2 separate regions of the Homo sapiens genome follow, and region 1 is linked to region 2. Evidence: promoter capture Hi-C in 16 types of primary human blood cells and fetal thymus (Javierre and others, 2016). All regions are on one chromosome and are shown on one strand. The core of a region is centred on a gene start or on the middle of the fragment in contact, and the rest is flanking DNA. Distances in the headings are between cores, read along the strand shown. Region 1 overlaps STX8 (syntaxin 8). Region 2 holds the start of NTN1 (netrin 1).

The links. The method cuts DNA at HindIII sites, captures the fragments that hold promoters and counts their contacts. A CHiCAGO score of 5 or more calls a contact.
Region 1: a contact is called between a fragment that was not itself captured here and the fragment with the promoter of NTN1 in region 2, in 1 of 17 cell types (endothelial precursors). The highest score is 5.3, in endothelial precursors.

Annotation. Positions count from the first base shown.
Region 1 is chr17:9,495,821-9,502,057 of GRCh38, reverse strand. The region is part of intron 5 of STX8 (syntaxin 8); the gene reads left to right. Among named protein-coding and RNA genes, the nearest start is that of STX8, 77 kb to the left of the region's middle. The HindIII fragment of the contact is 5,519 bases long and covers 872-6,237 here.
Region 2 is chr17:9,017,766-9,024,393 of GRCh38, reverse strand. NTN1 (netrin 1) reads right to left here and starts at 2,884. Exons shown (of 7, transcript NM_004822.3): 1 at 2,809-2,884; 2 at 1,003-2,083. The coding sequence starts at 2,020. RefSeq lists silencers at 2,633-3,422, 3,473-3,522 and an enhancer at 2,943-3,486. The HindIII fragment of the contact is 7,248 bases long and covers 1-5,323 here.

The DNA of each region.
Region 1 (6,237 bases), core at 2,382-4,881, 480 kb before region 2:
CACTTGTTATCTTTTTTCTTTTTGATCATAGCCATTCTGACAGGTGTGAGGTGACAGCTCATCATGTTTGGTTTGTTTGTTTGTTTTTTGAGACAGAGTCTTGCTCTGTCGCCCAGGCTGGAGTGCAGTGACGCAATCTCTGCTCACTGCAAGCTCCACCTCTCAGGTTCACGCTATTCTCCTGCCTCAGCCTCCCGAGTAGCTGGGACTACAAGCACCCACCACCATGCCTGGCTAATTTTTTGTATTTTAGAGATGGGGTTTCACCGTGTTAGCCATGCTGGTTTCGATCTCCTGACCTCGTGATCCGCCTGCCTCGGCCTCCCAAAGTGCTGGGATTACAGGCGTGAGCCACCGTGCCTGGCCTGTTTATTTTTTTGAGACTGTTGCCCAGGCTGGAGTGCAGTGGCGTGATCCTGGCTTACTGCATCCTCCGTCTCCCAGGTTCAAGCGATTCTCCTGCCTCAGCCTCCTGAGTAGCTGGGATTACAGGCATGTACCACCATGCCCAGCTAATTTTTGTATTTTTAGTAGAGATGGGGTTTCTCCATGTTGGCCAGGCTGGTCTCAAACTCCTGACCTCAGGTGACCCACCCACCTCGGCCTCCCAAAGTGCTGGGATTACAGATGTGAGCTGCTGCGCGTATGGGCCTATTTCTGTTGTACTCTCTGTTCTTTTCCATTGGTCTATTTGTTTATCTTTATACCAATGCCTCACTGTATTAATTATTTTACCTTTATGATGGGTCATTAAGTAAGATAGTACAGGTCATCCAGCTTCGTTTATTTTTACAATTTTATTGGATATTCTAGGTCTTTTGCATTTCCATGTGAATTCTAGAATCTGTTTTTAATTTTACAAAAGAAAGCTTCCTGGGCATTTGATTGGGATTACATTGAATTTTTAGATTAGTTTGAGGAGAATTGATATTTTAACACTATTGAGTCTCAAATTCTCTCAGCAATGCCTTTTAGTTTTTGCTATACGTGTCTTATATATCTTTTATCCTATTTATCCCTAAATAGTTCATATCTTTTATTTTATTTTATTTTTTGAGACAGTCTCACTCTGTGACCCAGGCTGGAGTGCAGTAGCGAGATCTTGGCTCCCTGCAAGCTCTGCCTCCTGGGTTCACGACATTCTTCTGCCTCAGCCTCCCAAGTAGCTGGGACTACAGGTGCCCGCCACCACGCGCGGCTAATTTTTTGTATTTTTTTAAATAGAGACAGGGTTTCACCATGTTAGCCAGGATGGTCTCAATCTCCTGACCTCGTGATCTGCCCGCCTCGGCCTCCCAAAGTGCTGGTATTACAGGCGTGAGCCAGCACGCCCGGCCTTCATATCTTTTATTCTAAGTAGCATTTTTAAAATATCAATTTCTAATTGTTGCTTGTATATCAAAATACAGTTGATCTTTGTATATTGATCTTGGATCATGCAGCCTTGCCAAAGTCACTAATTTCTGAATGACACTCAGCTCGAGACTCAAAGTGGCCCCTGTGCAGATCTACAGAGTACTCTCTGCAGTCCTCTCTGGTCCTGTGCCCTACATCCTCTAACCACCATGGCCTCTTGGGACTTTTCTCAACTCGAGGAAAATGCTGGGTTCCACCTGTGTTCTCCCATCCCCACACCATGGCTTGGGAACTCTTATGAGGTAGTAATCCGGGGCAGTCTTAGAACTCACCTCATTTGTTTCCCGTCTCTCAGGGATCACTGCCCTTCATTTCCTGATGTCCATGTCTTAAAACTGTTGTTTCGTATATTTACCCTGTTTTGTTTTGTTTTTCCAGTTGTTTCAGTCCAGAAGGAAGTCTGGTGCCTGTCAGTCCATCTTGGGCAGAAGCAGAAATCTGATTCTATTTCGAATTCCCTTTTCACAGTGAAATTATTGAGTCAGTGAAACACCGTGACTCTCTTACATCTTCAGTTTTACATACTTCACCCATTACCATATTTGGAGGAAAGTGAAAAAAATGAAAAACAACACAGCTTTACATGCAGCACAACCATTCGCTCTTCAGGACTCACATTTCCTGAATGGAGCACCTTATAGCTAATACTCATGCATTTTCTGGCATTGTTGCATTTTGCCAAGAAAAGCTGTTTTCAGTCGGGAAGAGTATGCTCGTCCCGGAGAAGGTGCTATTTTCAGGGGTTGCTTTAGGTCAGTGTGAGAGGATGCTCCTCAAAGTGTTTGTCACAGTCTCCAAAACAGAGCTTCCTTATGAAGATTCTCACCCTTGGGAAGCCTGCTGGCCTGTGGGGTGTGGGTGGAGTTTGCGGGGAGCGGCAGCGCAGGTTGCAGGTCAGTTTCTCTCCACTGCTCTTACCTTTGTGTTTTGAAATGCTATGTTCCGGCTGGGCGTGGTGGCTCACGCCGGTAATCCCAGCACTTTGGGAGGCAGAGGCAAGCACATCACAAGGTCAAGAGATCGAGACCATCCTGGCCAACATGGTGAAACCCCATCTCTACTAAAAATACAAAAATTAGCTGGGCGTCCGTGGCGGGCGCCTGTAGTCCCAGCTACTCGGGAGGCTGAGGCAGGAGAATGGCTTGAACTCGGGAGGCGGAGGTTGCAGTGAGCCGAGATTGTGCTACTACACTCCAGCCTGGCGACAGGGCAAGACTGCTTCAAGAAAAAGAAAGAAAGAAATGCCATATTCCTCTTTGCTAGCGAGCTGTTTTTCAAGGACAAATACAAAAAATGGAAGTAATCTTCACACAGAACCCTTATTAGCCTTTTCTCTGCCTCAAGAATCTTGACAATGTGCTGAAGTTGCTATGGCTTTGTTTGCGTCCTTGCCAGGTCCTGCATTAAATGAAAATAAAGAGCCACAAAAGGTCATTTCTGACTTCCTTTAGCCCGTGGAATCCCTTAGCCATTCTGCACTCTAGCTGACCCTTAGAAACTTTGAAAATCATCCCAAAATTACAGTTTACTGGTAGAACATAGACTGAAGGGCAGGGAATGCCTTCCTTGCCTAACCTAGAAGTGAAGCCTCATCGTAACAAATTAGCCAATTTGGCTTCTGTGCCCCTTCAGCTGTAATTTGAAGCATGAAATGGGCATTAGGCAGAAGATGGGTGGGTGATGACAATCACTTAATTGCCTCAAAGATCCCTGAGATAGAAGGAACAAGGGTACTTGTTTCTTGTTTCAAAATGCTTTGGTTATTATACACCCTTGTCCCTGAGTGGGATCGCAGACCTTGGAGAAGTATGAAGTGTCATTCCACCTTCACCCAGGAGGTCTTTCTTGATGGGGTTTCTTCATCAGCTTCATCTAGTCTTATGAATTTTCTATAGATGTTCTTTCTAGACTCTAGCAGGAAATTGTGCAATCGTTCTAGATTTCTGCGTTCTTAGGTCTCTTGGTGTTTGCATGTGAAATGGGGCTGTAGAAGGTGGCTAGCCAGACTCCATTTCACACTGGGGAATCTTAGTAGCTAACCTTTGAACCCTTGCAGTCACAGCTTCACAGAAAACTTTCTTTGAAGATACCCTTTCTTGTAGCTGTCACCTAGACTAGAAGGATTCCTTTCCTAAAATCTTAAAACAAAAATAAAAACATCTATTCTTAAACTTGCTCTGAGTCTTCTAACATAGTGATTAACTTTTTATCTAGCTTGACCTAATTTTTCTTTTCTTTTGTTTTTTTTTTTTGAGATGGTGTCTCACTCTGTCACCCAGGCTGGAGTGCAGTGGTGCGATCTCAACTCAATACAACCTCCATCTCCTGGGTTCAAGTGATTCTCCAGCCTCAGCCTCCCAAGTAGCTGGGACTACAGGTGCATGCCACTGCATCTGGCTAATATTTGTATTTTTAGTAGAGACAGGATTTTGCCATGTTGGCCAGGCTGGTCTCGAACTCCTGACCTCAGATGATCCCCCCCCACCTCAGGCTCCCAAAGTGCTAGGATTACAGGCGTGAGCCACTGCACCTGGGTGACCTGATTTTCTTCTCTTTCATTCCTACCTTCCTTTATTGAGGGAGAGCTCCTTCTGTATGTTAAATGTGAAAGGTTCATTGCTTCTCTGTGGGCACTGGACAACACAACATCAACTACTTTTTTGACTGTGTAAACTCAGAGGGCTCTCTAGTATTGGCCAGGAGTCTTTCTGTCTAGCAGAGACTGTATTCCTTTCTTTTGTAAACCTAGAGGGCCCTCCCTCTGTGGTCATTCATTGATTTAAACAAGTGTTGTACATTTCAGTCCTTGATTTAAATATGTTGGTGCTCCGTGCCACTAGCTGGGCTCAGATCTGGGGCAAAGACATAGAAAAAGAAGAAGTCTCATGTATGTCAAAGACACAGGAAAAGAAGACAGTCATTGGGGTCTGGATCTTGTACTCAATCCAGGGACTGTAGTTGCAGCTCTTAGGGATGTCCCTCTGTTGTATTGTTAAAATATTGATAACTTTTTACTATGGAAAATTTCAAACGTGTAATAGTAGAGAGTGTCAGATAATGACTTTGTCCTACTCATCCTCCAGCCTCAGTGATTGTCAACCCATAGCCAATCTGTTCACATGTATATGCCATCCCGTAACCTACCCATCCTACCCAGCCCCTAGGTTATTTTGGGAGCAAATCCCAGACATCGTATCATTTCATCAGTGGATATTTGAGAATATATATCTGAAATATGTTTGGAAAAGATAAATACTGTTTTGGAAAACTATAGTCACATGCCATTATCATCCTTAAGAAGTTAACAATATTTCCTGAATCTAATCAAATACTCAGCATTCAAGTTTCCCTGATTGTGCTGTGATGTTTTCTTTTAGGTAGTTCAATTCAGGATCTAAATATGGCCCATACATTGCAACTAGTTATGTCTCTTAAGTTTCTTTAATATACAGGTTCTTTTTCCAACTCTTCCTTTTTCTTCTATGCAGTTTCTTCATTGAAACTGCATTTGCCCTTTAGTTTCCCACTATCCAGATCTTGCATTTCTGAATGTCTACAGATAGGAAATATCCAAACACCTAATGGTTTCAAGGGGATTTTTAAAAAATGATTGTATTAGTTTTCTATTGCTGCTTTAATAAATTAGCACAAACTTAGTGACTTAAAACACATTTATGATCTTACAGTTCTGTAGGTGAGTAGTCCAATGCAGGTCCCACAGGGCTCAGATCAAGCAGTTAGCTTGATTCTTTTCTGGAGGCTCATTCTGGAGAATTCGTTCCCTTACTTTTTGTAGCTTCTAGAGGGCTCCCACATCTCTTCTTTCGTCTTCAAAGCCAGTAAGTTATCTCTCTCTGACCCTTCTTCATACTCCCTCTGATGGCAGCTGGGAAAGGTTCTCTGCTTTTCAGGACTCATATGATTATACTGGATCCACCTGGATAATCCAGGCTAATCCCCCGTCTCAGATTTTTAACCTTAATCACATCTGCAAAGTCCCTTTTGCCATGTAAGGGAACATATTCATAGTTTCTGGGGATTAGGATATGGACATCTTAAACATGGGGGATATTATTCTATCTGTAACAATGATCCATCCATTTTTAAAAATTCAAATCATTGTAAAATAGAATAATGACTGATAGAGTGTGGTATGTTACAATTGCCCTCTTGTGATATCATCATGACTTGGGTTATGTGAAAGAGTAGGGCAGATTTTGGCAGTTATGACATGATGGTAGTTTTGTTGGTAAGAAAGTACATGGTGGCTGGGTGTGGTGGCTCACGCCTGTAATCCCAGCACTTTGGGAGGCCGAGGCAGCTGGATCACCTGAGGTCAGGAGTTCGAGACCAGCCTGGCCAACATGGCAAAACCTCGTCTCTACTAAAAATACAAAAATTAGCTGGACATTGTGGTGGATGCCTGTAATCCCAGCCACTGGGGAGGCGGAGACAGGAGAATTGCTTGAACTTGGAAGGTGGAGGTTACAGTGAGCCGAGATCATGCCATTGTACTCCAGCCTGGGCGACAAGAGCGAAACTCTGTCTCAAAAAAAAAAAAAAAAAGAGAAAGAAAAAGAAACTGCATGGTATGGTTTCTTCTTCTTTTTTTCTTTTTGAGACAGGAGTCTTGCTATATTGCCCCTGGCTGGACTTGAACTTCTGGGCTCAAGCAGTCCTCCTGCCTTAGCCTCCCGAATAGCTGAGACTACAGGCGCACACCACCATGCCCATGCATGGTTCTTGATTATTTATATTTTTGCAGTCAGCAGCATTGTGTTTTGATCATTGTCTCTAAGATAGCCATACCACCTTCCCCTT
Region 2 (6,628 bases), core at 1,635-4,134:
GCTCAAATAAATGTGGGCTTTGGAGCTTTACTTCCCATACTGAAAAAGTAAGGTGTAGTCTTGCTACCTCCCCTCACCCTTTTTTTCTTTTTATGGGGAGAAACTGATTTCTGAGAGCTTCTGCAGCAGCAAAGTCGTCCAATTCAGAAGCAGAACGTATCCTTTTTTAGCTTCATTTCTGACCCAGCCGTATTCACCCGGTTTTGTCAGATTTCTCTTTCAGGAAATGAAACCCTATTTAAAAAGTGAGAAGCTGGACCCTTAGTTAATTCAAAACTGTTTAATTTCACCAAAGCCTGAAGCTAATAAAAAAAATCTGGTATACTTTTTTAGACCAGAATTGAATTCGTTTAAAATAATTACTGAACGCTCCGTTGTAATCAGCAGATAGTAATTAATTGAAATCACATCATTCTTCTTTTGCTAACACAAACACGCTGTTCAAAAGAGAGACAAAAATAGTTTCAAATCATGAAAAGACAAATGGAGGGCAGGAGTGATACTCGTCGGGTACCGAACTGACCCCAAACTACAAACAGTTCTTTGCCATCTCCCAAGGGATTTGTAGGTGTGGAGTTGGAACTTCCCAGGAACTGGGCCGGGGTCCCCAACCGCGAGCCCAGCTGCAGCCTTGGGAAAGGGGGGTGGGTGCAGGTGAATCCCAGCGTCCAACCCAACGAGGGGGAAGGCAATGAATGTTTGCGTTTGGATCCAGGGTTAGCGGAGACCTATCTGCAAATGTTCTGCCAAACCCCCTCCCGGGAACATTTCTCCTGCTGCTTCTTGGCTTCGCAGAGAGCACTGGGCGCAAATTCGGGCGTCCACCACGAGCGCCACGCGAGCGAGTGGACCTGCTCTGAGCCCTCCCGGGTCCCGGGCATCGGCGAACGCGCCTCCCGCCGTTCCCTCGACCCGCGCTCCTATGAACTCGCCGCTGCGAGGCCCAGCAGCTCCCGCCCGCGGCCCCACCCGCCGCCGGCTCCGCCGCCGCACCCCACTCACCCACGCACTCGTTGGCTTCGCGGGCTGTGGCGCGCTGCCAGGGCCGGTCGTAGTGGAAGGGCTTGCAGCGGTCGCACTCCGGGCCGGCCGTGTTGTGCCTGCAGTCGCACACCAGGCTGTCGTCGCGGTCGCGCACGCAGCGGGCCGCGTGGCCGTTGCACTTGCACCGGCCGCCCACCTGCAGGTCGGACACCGCGTAGAAGTACGAGTCGCGCGCCAGCTCCGAGTCGTCCTCGTTCTCGTCGCCGAACGTGTGCAGGCGGCTGAAGGCCACGCGGATGTCTGTGGCCGTGACCCAGTCCTGCAGCACGGGCGAGTTGTCGAAGTCGTGCGCCGAGGGCCGCCCGTCCAGCGTGCTGAAGGCGATGAGGCCGCCCGAGAGCGGGCGCATGTCGGTGTGCGAGTCGGTGCACACGGCCTCCTGCTCGTTCTGCTTGGTGATGGGCGCGCGGTGCGGCCGGTTGTACATCTTGCGGCACTGCGTGGAGTAGAACTGGAAGGGCACCCACGTGCGCCCGTAGTCCATGGACTTGTAGATGGCCATGGACTCGGGCCGCGGCGAGCAGAACTGCAGGCTCACGTAGGTCACTTCGAACTTCTTGCCGAGGGACAGTGTGAGCGTGACGTTGTGCGGGAACTGCAGGTAGTTCTCGGACTGCCAGCACGTCAGGTTGTGCGGGTTGTTGAGGTCGGTGAGGAAGGCGGGCGGGTGCGCCTTCTTGGGGTCGGACGCGTTGCAGAGGTGGCACGAGCGCAGCCGCTCCTCGCCGCGCTCGCTCACCACGCAGTAGCGCGCCGGGGGCCGGCCGCAGGTGCTGGACACGCGCACGTCCTTGCCGAAGGCCGCATTGACAAAGTCCGGGATGCAGCGGCGCGGGTGGCCGTTCTCGTCCGAGCAGGGATCGGGCTGCGCCGCCTGGCCCGCGAACATGCTGAGCCCGGGCCCGCCGCGCACCGCGCCCACCAGGCACGCCACCGCCGCCAGCGCCGCCAGCGCCTCCCACACTGCGCGCATCATGCTGCGTCCAGCTTGCCCCGGCCCTGCCGCGCCGAGGATCTGTCCGCCTGCCGCAGAAGGCGCCTGCGGAGAGAAGGGAGCTGCGCTCAGCCAGCCCGCCCCGCGCCCTCCAGCTCTCGGCGGGGTGGCGAGCGGAGATGCGGGAGAACGCCCGGCTTCCTGGGCACCCACCCCGCAGCCGACTGCCCGCCTCTCTCCCCCAAAGTCCCGCGGGCGGCGAAGCCGGGGCCCTCCAAGTCCGCACCGCTCGCGCCCCTTCTTCCCCGCCCGGCGGGAGAACGCTCTGCTTCCCCGCCACCGCCGCCCCCACGCCGCCCGAGGGGCATGCCTGAGCCGGTCTCCCCGTCCGCGACCAGCCCCCCTCGCACCCCAAGTTTCGGGCGCAGGAGAGCTGGGGGACCCCGACTCTGCACGGCCCGCGCCCCTTCGTCTCGCAGCCCGGGGTCCCTCTCAGATGCCCCCCGATCGCGTCCCCGCCGGAAAGTCCGCGTTCGGGACTTTACCTCTGGAGGGGGCAAAAGAGAAAGAAAAGTTTGCCTGGCCCCTCCGGGGAGCCCGCGCGCCGGTCGCCGGAGAGCCTCTCGCTCGCTGCTAGCAGGCGCGTCCCGCCTCAGCGCGGGCTTGCCAGCTCCATGCCCGGCGCGGCCGCCGCTGCCCCAGCCCCAGCCCCGGTCCCGGCCCCGCCGCCGCCTCTCTCGCCCGAGTGACTACGCGGCCGCCCGGCTCCCGCCGCTCCCGCCGAGCTCGGAGTGCTGCCCTGCCCGCGCCCGGGGCGCACACACACTCACGCTGGCCGGCGCGCACTCACACACACGCGCGCTCGCCCCCGAAGGCTCCGCCGCCGCCGCCACTCGCGCTGGGAGTGAGGGGCGGAGGGGAGCGCGGGGGCGGGGGGCGGGGCCGCCGGGCGGGGCGCCGGCCAATAACGTCCGCGAGCTGCCGCCAGCTCCGAGCAAAGTTTTCACCCCGGGAAAGAAGAAAGTTAAAGGGAACCGGCCCGGACGCCCGAGAGGGAGAGCACAGGCGGGTGGGAACCCGGGAGCCCGAGAAAGAACAGCAGAGACAAAGAGAAAGCGAGGAGAGCACCCGGGGAAACCCCGGAGAGGGGGCTGGGCCGGGCCAGGCGCGCACCCCGTGGGGGAGGAGGGGCCGCCGGGGACTGTCAGCCTCGCCCGCGCCCCGCGCCGCCCGGAGAGCCTCACGCCCGGGGGAGCGCGCGGGCGGGGGAAGGGGGCCACTTTCTCCCTCCCGGTCCCAGCCAAACACATCTGTGTTTGTTTTCTTTGCTGCGCGGAGGTCGGGCCTTCCTCTAACCCAGCCTGATGGCCCCCGGTGGCACCGCGCACAGGGCTGTGCCCCTGTGGGCACGCAGCCCGGGAGCGTGAGGAAGAGGAGGAGGATGTGACCTCTGCCTGCTCTCCATTTTTGCCCGAAGCCCCCGGGGTCCGGCGAGGAGGGGCTGCTCGCCCGCACTCCCACGGATATCACCGTGCGTGAGCCTGTCTGTCGGGAACGCGGCTTCGTTCTAGCCAAGGGAGCAGTGGTGGGCAGGAGGCTGAAGGGGTAGGAAGCTGGCAGCACCTGGACGCTGGCCACCGCCCCTCCAAGACGGGCCTGCCTGGTCTCAGGCATGGGGACAGCCCAGCCCTCCCCAGATCCCCTGAGGCAGGCGTATCGGTACTTCCTCAACCGCATTTTTAAGGGTGCAAAGCCCTGTAATAGCTCATGGGACCTCCACAGCAGCTTTGCTGTTGTATTAACTCCATTTTGCAGATGAGGAAACTGAGGGTCCCGGGAGCTGAAGAAACTCGCACAAGATCAACCCCCAAGTAAACATCAAAAACAGGAAGAGAAGCCTGGGCTCCTTCCACTGCAGGGCATTCGTCAAATGCATAACCTTGCCGAATGATGGTGTCATGGGGCATCTGCGGGGCCACCCAGCCCCTCCTTGCCTCATTCTCCATCGCCCCAATAAAAAGACTGAGGACAGTGACAGCATCCTTTGGTCATCTTGCAACAGCAGCCAGAGAGCTCTGGGAAAGGAATACACTGGGCCGAGAGTTTGGAACGGAATCTCTGCTCGTTTATTTGTTACTTGTAGATGTGTGGTCCAGTAATAGACCCGGATGAAAAGCCCCAGGTCCTGGTTCCGGCCCAAGGGCTGCCTTGCTGCATTAGCTCCATTAAGTGCCTCAGTTTGTCTTATTGGCATTTTCATAAACCCTGAGAATCTAAGAAGGGGCCTCGGGGCTCGTCTGGCCCAGCTCCGTCTCCTTGGAAGAAGGCCTTCCCCAGCCTCCCAGAGAGACGGCCACCCAAGCCAGCTCTTCCAGGGATGGGAGCTCACCACAGCTCAAGAAAATAAATCCATTCCATTGCAGGACAGCCTGGATTCATCTTCTTACCCCGGGGTAGCAATTTAGCTGTGCCTTCTTGTGCCGTTTACCACACTCTGCACTGTTTATTTATGCCTTACCTCACCTTGTGGCAGAAAGGATTTCAGGTAACTTACAAGGGTACATAAAATATGACACAATAACAAATTAAAAGTGAGGTCAAAGGAAATAAATGAAATGGTTAACCATGGTGACCTGTGAAATCGCAATGGTATACTGAAAGGCAGCATAGCTCTTAGGAGGAAACGCTTCGGAGCCAGGGTACCTGGGTTCAAATTCTGCCTCTGCTGTGTGACTATGGAAAGTCTATGCCTTGGTTTCCTCCATCTGTACAAGGGAGATAATACTTTCTACCCCACTGGGTTGTGAGCATCACGTGAGTTGACACATTTGAATATTATAGCTGATGGGATATAGACATACATATTGCAGGTCTGTAACACATATAAATAGGCTTTCTCATGTATGCAAATGTAAATATGCATAAAACCAGGCACATAGTACATGCATATAGAAATGTTAGCTGTTAGTATGAGGTCGCTTGATCTATACAGAAATTTTAAATCATTTAGAGAACACTTAATTACAGGGAAAGATGTTCATGACATATTATAATATGAAAAAAGCAAATTAAAAACACACAGTATAATGTCATTTTAATTTTTTAAAAAGTATGCATAAAAAGACAACACAGTTAATAGTGGTTATCTCGGAATAATGAGATTACAGGTGATTTTTATTTATCTTTGCTTGTATGCTCTCAGTTTTGCACAGTAAAATATGAAGTAAGAGAACAAAGAAAAGCTAAGAAGGGAGACAAAGTCGAGAGGAGGATACAGGTCCAATGCACCCTGGAGTTCCAACCTCTACACCTCTTCTGAGTGGGCCACAAATTTGTCCCTAAGCTTTCCTGCAGCTAAAATGAGGAGACCATGTTCATTACACAATTCCCAGTGTCCATGAGATAAAAACAGACCTACTGCTCAAGGGAATTACAACTATTCTTGGTACTAAAATCAGATAGGAATTTCTTGTGGGGGCGTGGCCCAGAAAGGGAACACAGTATGGGGTAATGAGCAAACGTCCCTGACAACATCCCCAAAACAGTCACAACAGTGAGCTCGGTTGGACAGTTTCTGTGATCCCCCTGAATGTAAGCTGATGGCATCGCATCAAAACCCAAGTCAGGAAAAGACATTCCAGCAAAGAGGAATGGAAAAGAAGCAAATTGGGGTGCTCAGCTGACTGGGGTACCTTTTGGAGCATCTACAAGACTGGATTGAGAAGTGCTTTCCAAGCCTTCCTCCTGAATGTTGTTTCTGTCCACAGAGCCTTTTTTTTTTTTTTTTTTTTTAAGATGGAGTCTTGCCCTATTGCCCAGGCTGGAGTGCAATGGCGCATTCTCAACCTCTGCCTCCCGGGTTCAAGCGATTCTCCTGCCTCAGCCTCCCAAGTAGCTGGGATTACAGGTACCCACCACCACACCTGGCTAATTTTTTTGTATTTTTAGTAGAGACGGGGTTTCACCATGTTGGCCAGACTGGTCTCAAACTCCTGACCTCAAGTGATCTGCCCGCCTCGGCCTCCCAAAGTGCTGGGATTACAGGAGTGAGCCACCGCGCCCAGCCTATGTCCACAGAGCTTTTGATGGCCCTTGCATGGCAGTAAGTTTGAAATGGCTCTTGGTAGAGTGTGGCTTTTCTACATTGCCAGCTGAGCTTAGGCCAGGGGTCTTCAGGAGAGGATGAGCGGGGTCACCTTCCAGTTTTATTGTGGTCACTTAGGTCTACGCTTATCATCTTTAGTAGTTCCTGGTGAGCAGGACTGTCTTACTCACCTTGTATCCAGGAGGTCTAGAACCTCCTGTAATACGGTGGAACTCCTCTACGTCCATTCCAAACCCCCCTCTCTGTTAAGTCTGCAGGTGGCCCAAACCCTACGCTACACAGCAGCCCAGATCAAGGTTCTCTGCCTCTTCAGATTCTTGAAACCAGTCCTCTATCATCCCTCAGTTTTATCTCTTCTGGGCAAAATGTTCCCAGTTATCTTAATGATTTCCCATAGGACATTGTTTTCTGACCACTCTGCAGCCTCTTCCATCCCTTCTAATTCATCAGTGTCCTTTCCTAACGCAGCCTGTCTGTTGAGGGGACAAATGAAAAAAACAGATGTCCAAGTGTCGTGAGAAGTTCTTAAAGTGGCGGTGATAAAT